Linked DNA regions of Homo sapiens: region 2 is linked to region 1. The links are contacts of gene promoters, found by promoter capture Hi-C in blood cells and fetal thymus (Javierre and others, 2016). All regions are on one chromosome and are shown on one strand. Each heading gives the region's core, a stretch centred on a gene start or on the middle of the fragment in contact. The rest is flanking DNA. Distances are from core to core; before and after follow the strand shown. Region 1 holds the start of DLD (dihydrolipoamide dehydrogenase). Region 2 has its middle 7.0 kb from the start of LINC02577.

What was found. The method cuts DNA at HindIII sites, captures the fragments that hold promoters and counts their contacts. A CHiCAGO score of 5 or more calls a contact.
Region 2: a fragment that was not itself captured here is called in contact with the fragment with the promoter of DLD in region 1 in 1 of 17 cell types (total CD4 T cells); the score reaches 5.1 in total CD4 T cells.

Annotation. Positions count from the first base shown.
Region 1 is chr7:107,887,666-107,895,124 of GRCh38, reverse strand. DLD (dihydrolipoamide dehydrogenase) reads right to left here and starts at 3,942. Exons shown (of 14, transcript NM_000108.5): 1 at 3,836-3,942; 2 at 1,847-1,925. The coding sequence starts at 3,874. RefSeq lists a silencer at 3,602-3,711 and enhancers at 3,772-4,011, 3,522-4,204, 4,162-4,241. The HindIII fragment of the contact is 5,175 bases long and covers 847-6,021 here.
Region 2 is chr7:106,764,281-106,771,739 of GRCh38, reverse strand. No RefSeq gene overlaps it. Among named protein-coding and RNA genes, the nearest start is that of LINC02577, 7.0 kb to the left of the region's middle. The HindIII fragment of the contact is 844 bases long and covers 5,166-6,009 here.

The DNA of each region.
Region 1 (7,459 bases), core at 2,693-5,192:
GAAGCCCTCAATGCATCAGTTAATATTATTGCTGTTGTAGCTGGTTACTTACTTTGTACAAGACACCATACTGGATGCTTTGCCACAGAGCAGTAATTAAAACAGACCAGGCCCCAGTGTTCATTCATTCAATAAATATGTACTGATTACCTACTGTATCACTTTAGATACTAAACAAAACAGTCACACACAGTCCCTGTCCTGATGAAGTTTGCATTCCTGAGGAAAAGACAGTAAGCATGTACCTCAGATAAAATACAAGTATGTGTGTAAAATGCTTGTTACTGCATCCACTCAAAGCTTTTACACACTTTACACACATGGGTACTAAGTGATTTATGATTTACTCAATGTCAAGGGATCACCAAACTGATTATGGAACACTCAGCCTCATTCCACTAAAATCTAAGTTCTGGCTCAGGGTCTGCCTGGCAAATAGAAGGCACTGAATAATCTCTGCTGAGTGATGCCAAAGGTATAGAGTTAGCCATGAAAAATATCCTTTAGAAATGAAAATCTAACATTTCTCCTGTTATATGAGTTGAGAAGAATGAGATTCCTATTTAACAAGAGACAAAGTGTATAAGAGGTCCAACTTTTCCCTTCATCATCATATTAGCATTTTTTTAAAAGGATTTCTTGACCTGTTCAAAGCTAGAATAAATCACTCACTCACTGTTAGTCATGGGTTACTAGAATCCTCCCCCTACCCTTCCTCTAGAAATAAAATATCCAAAATGATAATGGTTGGATAACAGTTGAGGATACAGGATTAAATTACTTCACAGAATGCAGGGAGACTGATAGTCACAGTTTGCCCAGATAATGATTTCTATAACTGAAGCTTTAAGACATCCAATGTTACTTATAATCCATATGGGTGAATTCAGTAAATGTCAAAACAGTACATTGCAAATAATCAATATCCTTGGTACTGACAGGTCAAAATACTTCAATATAATCCTATTAACTTTCTGTTTTAAATACTTAAAAAAATAAAATGCATATCCTTTATGGGAACTTCAAAAATATAAAAAAAGTACACAGGAGAAAATTCCATGACCCATAGCTTCCTTTTAGATCCTGCTAATCTTTAAAACATGCTTTTGATAAACCCATGAAGACTTTCATTCAGGATGTCAAGAAAGTCATCTCATCATTCTAAACAGTGTTAAAATAACCAATACAACCTTACTCAACGGACAAAATTAACTTTTTAAATGTAAACATATGAAATTGCTGCCCTGCTCAAAACCTTTGTTTCCCATCATACTTGGAGTATAATCCAAACTACTAGACCTGCCTTACAAGGCACTCCATGATCTGTCTCCTGCCTACCTCTCCGACTTTACATTGCATGGGTTTCTGCTCCAGTCATACCAGCCTTCTTATTACTCCTTAAACTTCACAAGCTAAGTCCCACCTCAGGCCTTTCTCAGTGTTGTTTCCCTCTGCCTGAAGTAACCTCACTCCCCCACTTCACTCAGGACCCTGCCCAGACATCATCTCCTCAGAAAGGCCTTTCCTGACACTGTATCTAAAATTATCTCTCTTCCTCCCTATTACCTGCTTTAATTTTCAGTTACTTCCCAAAATATTTATCCATTACTTATATATTGTTTGTCTTTTATCACCAAATTACAAGTTTCATAAGAGCAGGGTTTTTTTACCTTGTTCACCGCCTGGAACACACTAGCTCAATATACATTCAAACGAATAAATACATGAACAAATGAACTATAAGACACTTAACATAAGTTATTCCAATATTCACTTGCTTTTACATTGAAATAGAAAGGAACTGTCAGCTAATGTGATGAAAAAAATGTTTTACTTAAGTACTTACTCGGCTGATCTGCGTAAGTTCTCAGAGGCACTGCAGAAAGTCCCTGTAGGCCATGAGATATTCGATTGAAATGGCCTCTCTAGAAAAAGAAAATGTCCCTATTATGTAAGATATGAATTCAAAACATAGAACTACTGAAGGTTGATGATAACAGAACAATTTTGGGCAAACGTATCAAGCGAGGATTATTAGTGTATCTTCTTCCATTGCCACACAGAAGCTACAGATCAATATCCCCTCTTTGACAATAACTAATCATTTAAATTTTTCAGCCTCAGCTTGCCACACCCATCTTTTTATTATCAATAGTCAACAAATCATCTCATATTTAACTTAATTTTAAAAACGTATTCAATGGTATTTTTATTCAATTTTCAGAAAACATGGCTAATTATTAGTGCCAGGGATCATTTTAATGTCATAAAGCTCTGAGCCGGCCGTGGTGGCTCACGCCTGTAATGCCAACACTTTGGGAGGCTGAGGTGGGCGGATCACCTGAGGTCAGGAGTTCGAGACCAGCCTGGCCAACATAGTGAAGCCCCGACTCTACTAAAAATACAAGAAAATTAGCCGGGTGTAGTGGTGGGTGCCTGTAATCCCAGCTACTCGGGAGGCCAAGGCAGGAGAATCACTTGAACCCGGGAGGCGGAAGTTGCAGTCAGCTGAGATAGTGCCATTGCACTCTAGCCTGGATGTCAGAGTGAGACTCCGTCTCAAAATAAATAAATAAATAAATAAATAAATAAAGCTCTGAAAGTTCTAACTTAAATACTTGAATAATCTATACATGATAATCTTTTTACCTGTAATTTTTGTTTCCTAACTCTAAGCTAGCGTGTATATACAGTCCGTATTTACTTAGAACAATCTATGAAGATGTTCCTGAGACATCAACTAGGAATAGCAAATTAGACAAGGTAACTTAGGAAAATGCACCAAGTAATGTACTTACGTTCTGGTGCTACTACAGTTTGACAAATTGCATCATAATCTCCCTAATCTCTATATGTGGACGGCTACCATTTCCTAAGGGCAATGAGGCAGAAAGCAAGCAAGCAAATAACCCCTGCTCACAGCAGGAAAATGGGCGGCAGTGACAAAACCTACACTGATGTTTCCTATTCCAAGGCAACTCTTAACATTTGAGGTCAGGACAGCAAACCCAAAAAGCAGCAGATTGACAATCCTGAGTTTCAGTCCCACCTCCGCCGCTCCCTAAAAGCATGACTTGCAGAATGTTACATTAACTTTTGAGAACTCAGGTTCCTCATCTCTGAAACAAAAGGGTTTGATCGCTATATTATTTTTAAGGTCTCCACTAACATAGTACCCAGCCACGGTGCCACATACACACAATTTGGCTGTATCTGGTAAGCAGATTAAAAAGGAGAGTTGTTCTGATAACCTGCTGCAATTAAAGATTTAAGCCTCCAGGAAGTCGTGAGAGATGGCAATGAACACCAGTTGAAAGCTGCCAACACTGACAAGACCTTAGGGGAATTCCGAGGGCTATCTGTTGGAGCTGACTGGATCTAAACCATTCAAGAAGTGACCCCAGGGTTACCTGCCCACTGCATAAACTTAGGCCACTCAGGGATCAGAATTAGGATGAGAAAAAGGCAAATGGTATAAAAAGCCAGACTATACGGGACATGGGTGGCTTACACTTCCTCCAAGGTAGAGGCCTATGTGTGACCGGGATGGCCCTCGGCCCAGGCTTGGGGGTGTGGCATGTGTGACCGCCGGCCGTCACACAACCCGAAAGGACTCGCCACAGCCTGGGCCCAGCCCCGTCCCTCGCCTGCTGCAGGATGAGCGGCCACCTCGGAGCCCAGGGCCGGGCTGAGCCAGTGCAGAGGCGGGGCCAGGGGTGGTGCGGCCCAGGCGCCCGCCTCCGCCAGCCCAACACGGTTAAGCCGCGTACCGGACCCACTGAGCGGGACCTTCCGTGCCTCTGGCTCAACACGACCTCACCTACTCGGCCCTCACCTTGGCCAAGGAGCAGTACACACGACTCCAGCTCTGCATTTTTCCGCTGTATTTTCCTTTCCGCCAATACTTTCACCTCCGCTGGGCGCCTCCGCCGCTCCGCCAAGGTCTCCCCTCCCTGCGCATGCACAGGCGCAGCCTACGTCATCACCCGGGAGCAGCGCGATTGGCCCGCGCGGTTCTACCGCACGAGGCGTTCCTGTCAGGCTCGGCGTCGTACGCTGTCGTAAGGAGCGCAGGGCTTTGTCGCAGCGGGGGTGGTGGTGGGAATGCTTTAGGGGCTGGTGCCAAAATGTCGAGCTACAATGTATTCTTATACTTAGAAGATGAAATAAACAAATAAAACTAGCGTTTGCTTAATGCACATTATCGACAGTAAAGCGTGACAAGTTCAACAAGCTCTTGGTTGTGCTAGGCATTCCTCGGCACTTCCTACAGACATCTCATTTCATCCTTGCAACAACCATATGGAGTATTATTAGTATTTCCATTTCTTGGATGAGACCCAGAGAGGTTAAACAGTGCCCCCAAGGTCTCACAAAGGAGAGATAACTGCGGCCCTGAGGCCAAAACCTTTGGTATTATCTACTGCTTTATACTCGCTCCTCTCAAATGCCATATAAGGGATGGGGCTACAGATTTTGGCATCACCAGCATTCTGCTCTAATTAGCTAACTGACAATACGTAGAGAACACACTTTCTTCTATTTCTTTAGTTGAGAAACACATCTCCCTGGTAAAAAGAGAGTGGGATGGTGGATGAGATTTTAGGTTTTGAGAGAGAATCTGTTGAAAAGGGTTGAAAAACATTGTCTTCAAGATTGAGCACGAAAGTCTAAGGTCTCATTCTTGCCTTGCAATAAGTCTATATAGTGTGAATAAACTTAATTCTACATTTATTGGAAGTCTACCACCCAGGCCTTGTGCTGGGCTAAACACTGGTTAGAAATTACTGCCTATGTTCAGATTTAGATATGAATAATTAAATTTAGTGTTTGTTATAGAGACGGTATTGCTGGCAGCTCTGTCCTGTGACAGGGTCCCAGGCTCCTTTTATCTCGTGACTCTGCCATCATCAGAGCTTGCCTTGCATCTTTCATTCAAGATGGCTGCTCCAGTTTCTACAATCATATCCCCTCATTCCATCTGATTACAAAGCCACACCTAGCTGCAAGGGGATCTGTGAAACATAGTCCTGTCAGCTGAGTGCCTAACTGAAATTGTATTAATAAGCAAGATGAGATGAAGCGAAATTGGGGGACATTGAGCAGCCTCCACCACACAGATGGGGAGAATTGTCTCCTCTCCAGCTTCATGGCAGTCTTTGACATCTGGTCTAGGAGTTACTGCTCCATATGCACAAAATCTCACAATTCTTTCCTGAACTTTCTTGGGCTTTGTTCCCTACTCCTTTGTCCAAAATTACAATATCATATTTTTATTTTTAAAAAATGAAACACTTCCATCCTTTCCAGCTGTCATTCACAAAGCCTAGGGGCTCAACCCAGTATGAGAAGTGAGGCAGGAAATAGATTCCTTACTGCACTCACCATATTTCTCCACATTCCTCCTCATCTCTTGTACCAACTATACCTCTTCTCCTCTCAGCTAGAACAAAAGCCACAACGCATATAAATTAATGCGAACACACGGGAGGTGGAGGGAGCGATGTCAACAATGGACAGCCCACACTAGCAGTGTTTATATTCCAGCTAAGGAATATAACCAGAAATTGGACCACACTTATTTTGCTAACTTGATTTTTTTCACTTAAAACTATCTCATGAGCAACTTTCCATATTCATATTGTGTCCAGAATTGGTGGGTTCTTGGTCTCACTGACTTCAAGAATGAAGCTGCGGACCCTCGCAGTGAGTGTTACAGTTCTTAAAGGCGGCGTGTCCGGAGTTTGTTCCTTCTGACGTTTGGATGTGTTCGGACTTTCTTCCTTCTGGTGGGTTCGTGGTCTCGCTAGATCAGGAGTGAAGCTGCAGACCTTTGCGGTGAGCGTTACAGCTCTTAAGGCAGCGCGTCTGGAGTTGTTCATTCCTCCTGGTGGGTTTGTGGTCTCACTGGCTTCAGGAGTGAAGCTGCAAACCTTCGCTGTGTTACAGCTCATAAAGGCAGTGTGGACCCAAAGAGTGAGCAGCAGCAAGATTTATTGCAAAGAGTGAAAGAACAAAGCTTCCACGCTGTGGAACGGGACCCAAGCGGGTTGCCACTGCTGGCTCAGGCAGCCTGCTTTTATTATCTGGCCCCACCCACATTCTGCTGATTGGTCCATTTTACAGAGAGCTGATTGGTCTGTTTTACAGAGAGCTGATTGGTCCATTTTGACAGGGTGCTGATTGGTGCGTTTACAATGGCTGAGCTAGACACAAAAGTTCTCCAAGTCCCCGCTAGATTAGCTAGATACAGAGTGTCGATTGGTGTATTTTCAAACTCTGAGCTAGACACAGAGTGCTGATTGGTGCATTTACAAACCTTGAGCTAGATACAGAGTGACGATTGGTGCATTCACAATCCCTTAGCTAGACGTAAAGATTCTCCAATTCCCCACCAGATTAGCTAGACACAGAGTGCTAATTGGTGCATTTACAAACCTTGAGCTAGACACAGAGTGCCGATTGGTGCATTCACAATCCCTTAGCTAGACATAAAGATTCTCCAAGTCCCCACCAGATTAGCTAGATAAAGAGTGCCGATTGGTGCATCCACAAACCCTGAGCTACACACAGGGTGCTGATTGGTGTGTTTACAAACCTTGAGCTAGATACAGAGTGCCGATTGGTGTATTCACAATCCCTTAGCTAGACATAAAGATTCCCCAAGTCCCCGCCACATTAGCTAGATACAGAGTGCCAATTGGTGCATCCACAAACCCTGAGCTAGACACAGGGTGCTGATTGGTGTGTTCACAAGCCTTGAGCAAGACACAGAGTGCTGATTGGTGCACTCACAATCCCTTAGCTAGACACAAAGGTTCTCCAAGTCCCCACTAGACTCAGGAGCCCAGCTGGCTTCACCCAGTGGATCCTGCGCTGGGGCGGCAGGCGGAGCTGCCCGCCAGTCCCGCTGTGTGCCCGCACTCCTCAGCCCTTGGGCGCCAGTGGGCCAGCACTGCTGGGGGACCTGGCGCACCCTCTGCAGCTGCTGGCCTGGGTGCTAAGCCCCTCACTGCCCGGGGCAAGTGGGGCCGGCCAGCCGCTGCGAGTGCAGGGCCCACCAAGCCCACGCCCACCCGGAACTCTAGCTGGCCCGCAAGCGCTGCACGAAGCCCCAGTTCCCACCCGCGCCTCTCCCTCCACACCTCCCCGCAAGCAGAGGGAGCCGGCTCCAGCCTTGGCCAGCCCAGAAAGGGACTCCCACAGTGCAGCAGCAGGCTGAAGGGCTCCTCAAGCGTGGCCAGAGTGGGCACCAAGGCCGAGGGGGCGCCGAGAGGGAGCCAGGGCTGCAAGGGCTGCCAGCACGCTGTCACCTCTCAATATTAGCCTACTTCTAATGACTACTGAGTATTTTGGGACATACCCTAATTTATTCAACTATATTTTATTATTAGATATGTAAGCCATTACCAATTTTTCAATATCGTGATTAGCTTATCACTAAGTCTTTGCACACATT
Region 2 (7,459 bases), core at 4,338-6,837, 1.1 Mb after region 1:
ATATTCCATCATATATATATCATATATATATGGTTGAACTACACTGGGCTTTAACTACACTGATCTATGTTTCTTCCATCTTTTAACATAAATAAGTCATTGCCTATATTCCATCATATATATATGATATATATATATCACAGTGTAATTTTTAACTGTAATCTTAGTTTTTTTTGTTTTGAGTTACATAGATTTTATCAATTCTTAAATTATTTGAATTCAACTATCAAGTTTCTCCTAAATTTTCAATGTTGTAGTAAGAAAGAAGATAGCATTATTAAGTGGCTACTGTGCAATATTAACACTTTTATCTGGGTGTTTTCAATTAAAACTCAAAATAAGTTAATGCCAAGTAACCTCCATTCCTGCATTGATGAGACTAGTAAAGTTGCTAAAACCATAAGCCCTGAATTTAGGCACACCTGGATTTAAGTCTTGGCCACTTACTAACTATAAATTGCAGAAATTACTTAGCCCCTCAGGCTTAGCTTCCTCGCTGATAAATTTTAAAAGCAATAATTCTAATGATAATGTGGTGGTTATGAGGTTAAAAAATATAATGCCTGGGCAACATGATGAAGCCCCATCTTTATGAAATATATATAAATTAGCCAAACATGGTGACGTGCCTGTAGTCTTAGCTATCGGGAGGCTGAGGTGGGAGGACTGCTTGAGCCTGGGACGGGGAGGTTGCAGTGAGCTAAGATTGTGCCATTGCACTCCAGCCTGGGCAACAGAGCAAGATCCAGTCTCAAAACATATGTATATATGGCATGTGACTATATAATGCATAGTAACTGTTCAATAAATGTAAGCTATTGGTATTATTAGTCTCTCTGTCTCTCTCTTTTTTTTTGGCCTTATGTTTATCCCAAATAATTTGTATTTTCTTTGTTTTGGGCCTGATTTCTATATGAAGAAATAGTTTTGAATTGTCTCCTCGTGTATTAGCTCTGTCTCCCTAATTTTTAAATTGAAATATTCATAAACATGCATTCTGTGGTTTTCATGTTTTTGACAAAAATATTGAACAGAAATGAGCAAATCATAAATTCTTGGAGTTTGCCTTTTAAGGTGGAAGTCAAGTCTTTGGCCAATATTCTTTGGGTGACATTGAATGCCTAACTATGCAGCAAACCACCAGTCATCTTGCTGTTACCTGGGCCCTCATTCCTCCATCTTAACAACAAAAGGTGTGCATCACGATATTTGGCAAATGCTATGCTAAAACCAAGGCATACCATGTGCATGCCTTCCTCCTGACACACAGGCAACCAAATCTAAGAAAAGAAGTGAGACTGGTTGGCATGACTTGTTCTTAGTGAATTCACACTGGTTAGTATTTGTTTACTGTATCTTGCCTACAAATCATCCATTTTAGAATTTTGTTTGGCGTCTGCATGAGGCTCATCAGTTTACATACAGATCTCATTCTTTCACTATTTTTAGAAGTAGAAACATTTTCCAGCCATTAGTCACCTTTTCCATTCTCCTTGATTCTCAGGAGCAGTTCTCTGATCTCATCTGCAAACTCTTTTGATACTTTGGGATAGAATTTGTATTAACAGAAGTTTTGAAGTCATTCAGAGTAAGTGAAGATTTCTCTTACTATCTCTTTTTCTATTGTAGGTTTTAATTCTCTCTTCATAATGTTTGCTTCAAAATTGATGTTCATCTCTCTTAGAATATGGAAGGAAGCAGAAAATTGAATGGTTCTTTGATTATGTTATCATTTGTTAAGGTTATATTGTAATTTTTTTTTTTTTTTTTGAGACAAGGTCTTGCTCTGTGGCCCAGGCTGGAGTGCAGTGGAGTGAACATGGCTAGTGAGGGTTTACTTTCTGGGCTCAAGTGATCCTCCCACCTCAGCCCCGAGTAGCTGGGAACACAGGCGTGTGCTACCACACCTGGCTAATTTTTTACAAAGTTTTGTAGAGATGGAGTCTCACTTTGTTGCCCAGGCTGGTGGGCAAGAGGTCCTCCTGGGCTCAAGTGATCCTCCTGCCTTGGCCTCCCAAAGCATTAGGATTACAGGTGTCAGCCACCATGCTTGGCCTAAGGTGATATTGTCTGAGATACAGCATAGGTTTTTCTTCCCAGATCTTTTCTTGGCTACGGAGATTAAAAAGAAAAACAGCTTTCTTGCTGTCTTTAGTATTTATCTCCGCCCCTACTTTATTTTAAGACTTTATTCTCATAATACTCTAAACAAATTTTCCCTTTCTTTTATCGCATGCTTGGGTCTGTCCACCCCATCCGTCCTCTGAGCCATAGGAACCTCGAGTCTTACTACTCCAGATCTAACCCTCCTTTTACCTCCTCTCTGAGAACTGTGTGCTCCTAGACTATTATTCTATTCTTGCTGTTTATGTTTTCAGCACAAGCTTGTTTATGGTCAATTATCTGAGATTATTTCTATTATATTTTCTTTCCAGACAGCATATCTTTCCTCCTAAACAGGATCATTTTTGTAATGCTCAAGTAATCCTGTTTTCAGAGTCTACATTCCTCTTCTAAACATATTCCCTTGGGCACTATTATTTTCCTTACTTTTTATGAAGCCCCCTTTCTGAAGGTCTGACCATTACCTTTTTCACTATTATAAACATCAAGGCCATTTTATTCCAAGGTTTGCTTGTTTCTGCATTTGACACCTCCTTCTTTCTTGTTGGAATCCAGGACAAAAATTTCCTAAATGTATTCCTTTACCTGCTGAGGGAAAATTGTCAGTAACCCAAACCAAGAACAAACTCTCCGTCTGCTGTGCGCTGGGTTGAATGTGTGCCTTTCCCCAGCTTATGTTCACCTGGAGCCTGTGAATATGACCTTATTTGAAAATACAGTCTTTGCAGATGTAATCAAGTTAAGACGAGGTCATACTGGATTAGAATGGGCCCTAAATTCAATATAACTGGATCCTTATAAAAAGAGGAGCATTGGGACACAGGGACACAGACAGGGAGAAGATCGTAGGTGGAGACTGCAGTGATGCATCTAGAAGCCAGGGAGCACCAAGGGTGGCAAGCAACTGCTAGAGGCTAGGAAGAGGCAAGGAAGGTTCCCTAGAGGCGTCAGAGGAAAACATCAACCTGCCAGCACCTTAGTTGCAGACTACTAGCTGCCAACACTGAGATAATAATTTTTTGTTGTTTTAAGCCACCTAGTTTGTGGTGATTTGTTATGGCAGCATCAGGTAACCAATACATGTGGTTAATAGCAGGATACCACTAACTGGTTCCAGGTGGCCAATTCTGTAGCAGTTTTGCTACATGTATCAGAAGATAGCATGGCTATGTGGCAAGAATATAGACTTTAGGCTTAAAGACCCATGCTCGAGTCTTAGACCTACCACCGATGAGTTGGGCGATCTGCAGCTGCTAAAAGAAAAATTTTGGACAAACTAAATTTAACAGAGTTTAATTGAGCAAAGAATGTTTCATGAACTGGGCAATCCCCAAACCAGAATAGATTCAGACAGACTCACGTGAAAAGGATTTATGAACAGAAAAATGAAAGTGAAACAGAAGTGAGGAATAGGAACAGCTGGATTGTTACAGCTTGATGTTTGTCTTATTTGAACGTGGTTTAAACAGTTGGCCATCTGCAATTGGCTGAAGCTCAGTGATGGGTACAAGAGCAAGTTACAGTCTGTTGATACATCCAGTTAGGTTACAGTTCACTATGTGCAGAGAAACCTTTAGCCTCAACTTAAAAATATGTAAGGAGGCAGCTTTAGGCTAAACTTAATTTAACAGGGCATGGTCAATTAATCACTTATAACTTCCATAAAATAATGATAATGTATTATTCATCTGATAAGTCTTCTCTGAGATTGAAGAAAATGTGAGAAAGCACATTTTAAGTTATAAAGCCCCAACAAAGGCTATTGTATTGAGCACCCTTGACATAAGTAACTCCATCTTAAAAAAAAGACTCCATCTTACATTTCACGGGACATTTTGCCAACAGGGATACGATGTTTGCTTAATAAATTTGTAATAAATAAAGACTGCATCCAACCAGATAAGGGCATAAACAAGCACACACTTCCACTATCAGTCCTCTGGTGGTCGTAAAAAGAGCAGGGCTTCAGCAGCTCAAAGCGGCCATCTTAACTGACATGCTCTTACTGTCACTAGTGATCAACACCTGGCATCTGCTGCTGAAGGCTCTGCCCACATCAAAGACTTTTCCTTTCAAGACCTTTCCTGGACCGCCGAGCACAGACCAGGAGATTCTTTCTGTCTTCATCGTCACTTTCCTCGGACTACTTCATTAATCCTTTTTCCTATTCCCTTTCTCTTGATGTTAAATATTACTTTGGTGTGGAATGTTTAATCTTAACATTTATATGTTGATGAAATATACTACTATATATGGTTTGCAATGTTGACTGACTTGTGGAGTGGCTTGAGCTGTGTGCTCTGACTACGGAGTGAACGAGAAGTACTAAGGAGAGAGTTGCCTTCTTGAGAACTCCATGTAGCTTGTGGCTTTTGTGGTTAAAATAGCATCAGTAAAAATCTGACATTGTGGAGACACAAACATGCATGGACCTGGTTATCTCTGACTTTGCCCTGCTCATGAGAGCTATCTAGGATTGTTTTACCCAATTTCCTTCATGTGCTGGGTATCTGTATTACAGTCCTTCAAAGATACTACTTCCATCTCTTTCCGGGTTTATCCCCTTTTAAATACTTCTACTCTCAGATTTTAAATTTCCATTGGAATATATATATTCTTGACATACAATTTTCCTATCCTATCCTTTCGAGGAAACGTTTTCCTTTTGAACAAGGTATGCATGCTCTTTTAATGTTGTATTCCAGGTATGCATCTCATCAGTAAGTCTCAATGATCCTGAGACAGTGTTTACCAATCCTTATCTAAAAATCTTCAAAGTATGGATACGGTGTGCATGTGACATATACACATTTGAGTCCTAGAGTTTTTTTAGGTCTACTTCTATGACATCATCTCTGGAGAATTATAAGGTTTCTCTTCTGTGGGATCCTTGCAGTCTTTCATTGTGTCTGGTTTTGAGTAGTTTATGTCTGATTTATCTTTTCCTGAGATTTGATCTCTTCTTCACTCTTGTGCTGGGTACGTCTTTTTGCCCCACCCCCTCTCTCTGCCCCTGGCACCCAGTGGATTTGAAATAAGCTTCTTCAGATTTTCTTCTGGCTGACTTTTCATTATTTGCTTCATGCAATTTTGTTGTCAGGCAGACATTACTCTGAGTTAGAATATTATTGTATAGTTTTTAAAAAACTTTTTAAAAAAGCTCCCCCTTTTTTCTCATAGCCTAAAAATAAAGTAGATTTAAGAAGGAATCCCCCCTGCCCCAATATCTGAGAGGCCGTCATGTGGAAAAGGGATTAGACTTACTCTACATAGACTCATGTGTGGAGATTACAGAGGCAGTGTGATCCTAATAAAATAATAAAACTTTTCTAATGATCAGAGCTGTCCAAAAACAGAATGGCATGCCTTGTGAGGCAGACAGCTCTATTTCTGGAAATGTTCAAGGCAAGTGCCTTAGGTCAGGTTCTCTAGTAGGAGAGCCTGAAATGGAGTGACTCATTAAGGGAGTGGGTTCAGGAGAAGCCAGTAGAGGAGTAAGCTGAGCAGGGGACGGGAGGGGAGGAAGCTGGGCAAAGATGCGTGTACGCTAAAGTCTGACCCCAACCTGATCCTGCGGGAGTTCTGGGGCATGAATGGTATCACAGAATTGTCCTTCCTTGGGTCTTTTGTGCTTCTTCATCAGTCAGTCATTGCCTGTGTGCTGCCTATGGAGGGTGTGTGTGTTGGGTAGGGAGGCATACGCCTTACAGGCATTTCTAGGCAAGACAGCTCTGCTGAAGGCTATTCTTAGGTTAGGGGTACAGCTGTGAGTTGCCAACAGCCAACATTCACACAGCTGGGGAATGCAGGCATTTACCAGATAAACAGGACCTGAGTAGGACCCCAATAACACCTACTGCAAAGAGGAACAATTATGCAGAAGCTTTACTTTTTTTTTTTTTTTTTTTAAAGATAGGGTCTTCCTCTGTCACCCAGACTGGAGTGCAGTGGTGCAATCATAGCTCAGTGCAGACTTGATCTCTCAGGCTCAAGTGATCCTCCCACCTCAGCCTCCTGAGTAACTAGGACCATAGGCACACTACCATGACCAGCAATTTTTTTTTTTCATTTTTTTTGGTAGGGATAAGGTCTCCCTATGTTACTCAAGCTGATCTTGAACTCCGGTGCTCAAGTAATCCTCCCACCTCAGCCTCCCAAAATGCTGGGATTAAAGGTGTGAGCTACCACACCCGGCCCACATTGCCTTTCTTTATACCATTCAATGTGAGATAGTGATACCAATGGTGAGAATATAGATTTTGGTCTTGCTGAGGGCTTGTGTCTTAGTCTGTTTTCTGCTGGGTAATTTATAAAGAAAATAAATTTATTTGGCTCATAGTTCTGGAGATTGAGAAGTCAAGAGCATGGCACTGGCATCTAGTGAGGGTCTTCATGCTGCATCATCCCCTGGTGGAAGGCGGAAGAGCAAGTGAGTGTGCAAAGGGGGCTGAACTCTTGCAATAACTGTAACCTACTCTTGTGATAATGGTGTTAATCTATTCATGAGGATGGAACCCTCATGGCCTAATCACTTCTTAAAGGCCTCACATCTTAATAGTGTTGCAATGGCAATGAATTTTCAATATGAGTTTTGAAGGGGACAACATACAAACCATAGCAGCTTGATGGAGTTGTGTTGGGAGACAATTCTTCAAGGGTCCCTTACATTTCTGCACATTTTGTGAACAGAGGCACAAACTGCTTTTGTATTGATTATCTTTTTAAGAACCTTTGCATTACGAACTGCCTTGGAAGATGGCATCTTCCTATGGAGCAGAGGACAGATTATTTACTGTCCAATATGATAAAGATAATGTCTGTTTGGGAGCAAAGTTTGGGAAGGTTTTCTTGCAGCCCATTATAAATGATTGAGGTTCCTTAAACTTGGGTTTTCTTTAGCTGTGATGTAAGTCCATGTGTGTGGAGCATCCATGCAGTTGCTTTGTGGAATTTGGTGGGTGTGTCGGGGGAAGGGGAACTAATATGAACGTGTAGCTCCTGCTCCTTTCTGTGCTCTGGGTGATAAAGTCCTTTGTCTCTGAGCCAGAAGTCTGGTGCCTTCTGTCAGCATTCATGCAACAGTAATAGGCTAATATGTTAATTTGCCAAGTAGAATATAATCTCAGACTCTTTATAGTTCTTGACAAGTTGACCATTTACTATTGAGGAATCATACTTCCCACGATGATTGGTTTATGATCACAGAAGAAAATATGTTCTTGTTTTCCAGAAAAATAAAGTAAGGAACTTTGATCCCTTTGACCATAGGCCAGCATTTATTATTAAAGTGTTTTTAAACCCCTGCTATTTGGGGATGTCATGACTAATGACTGGA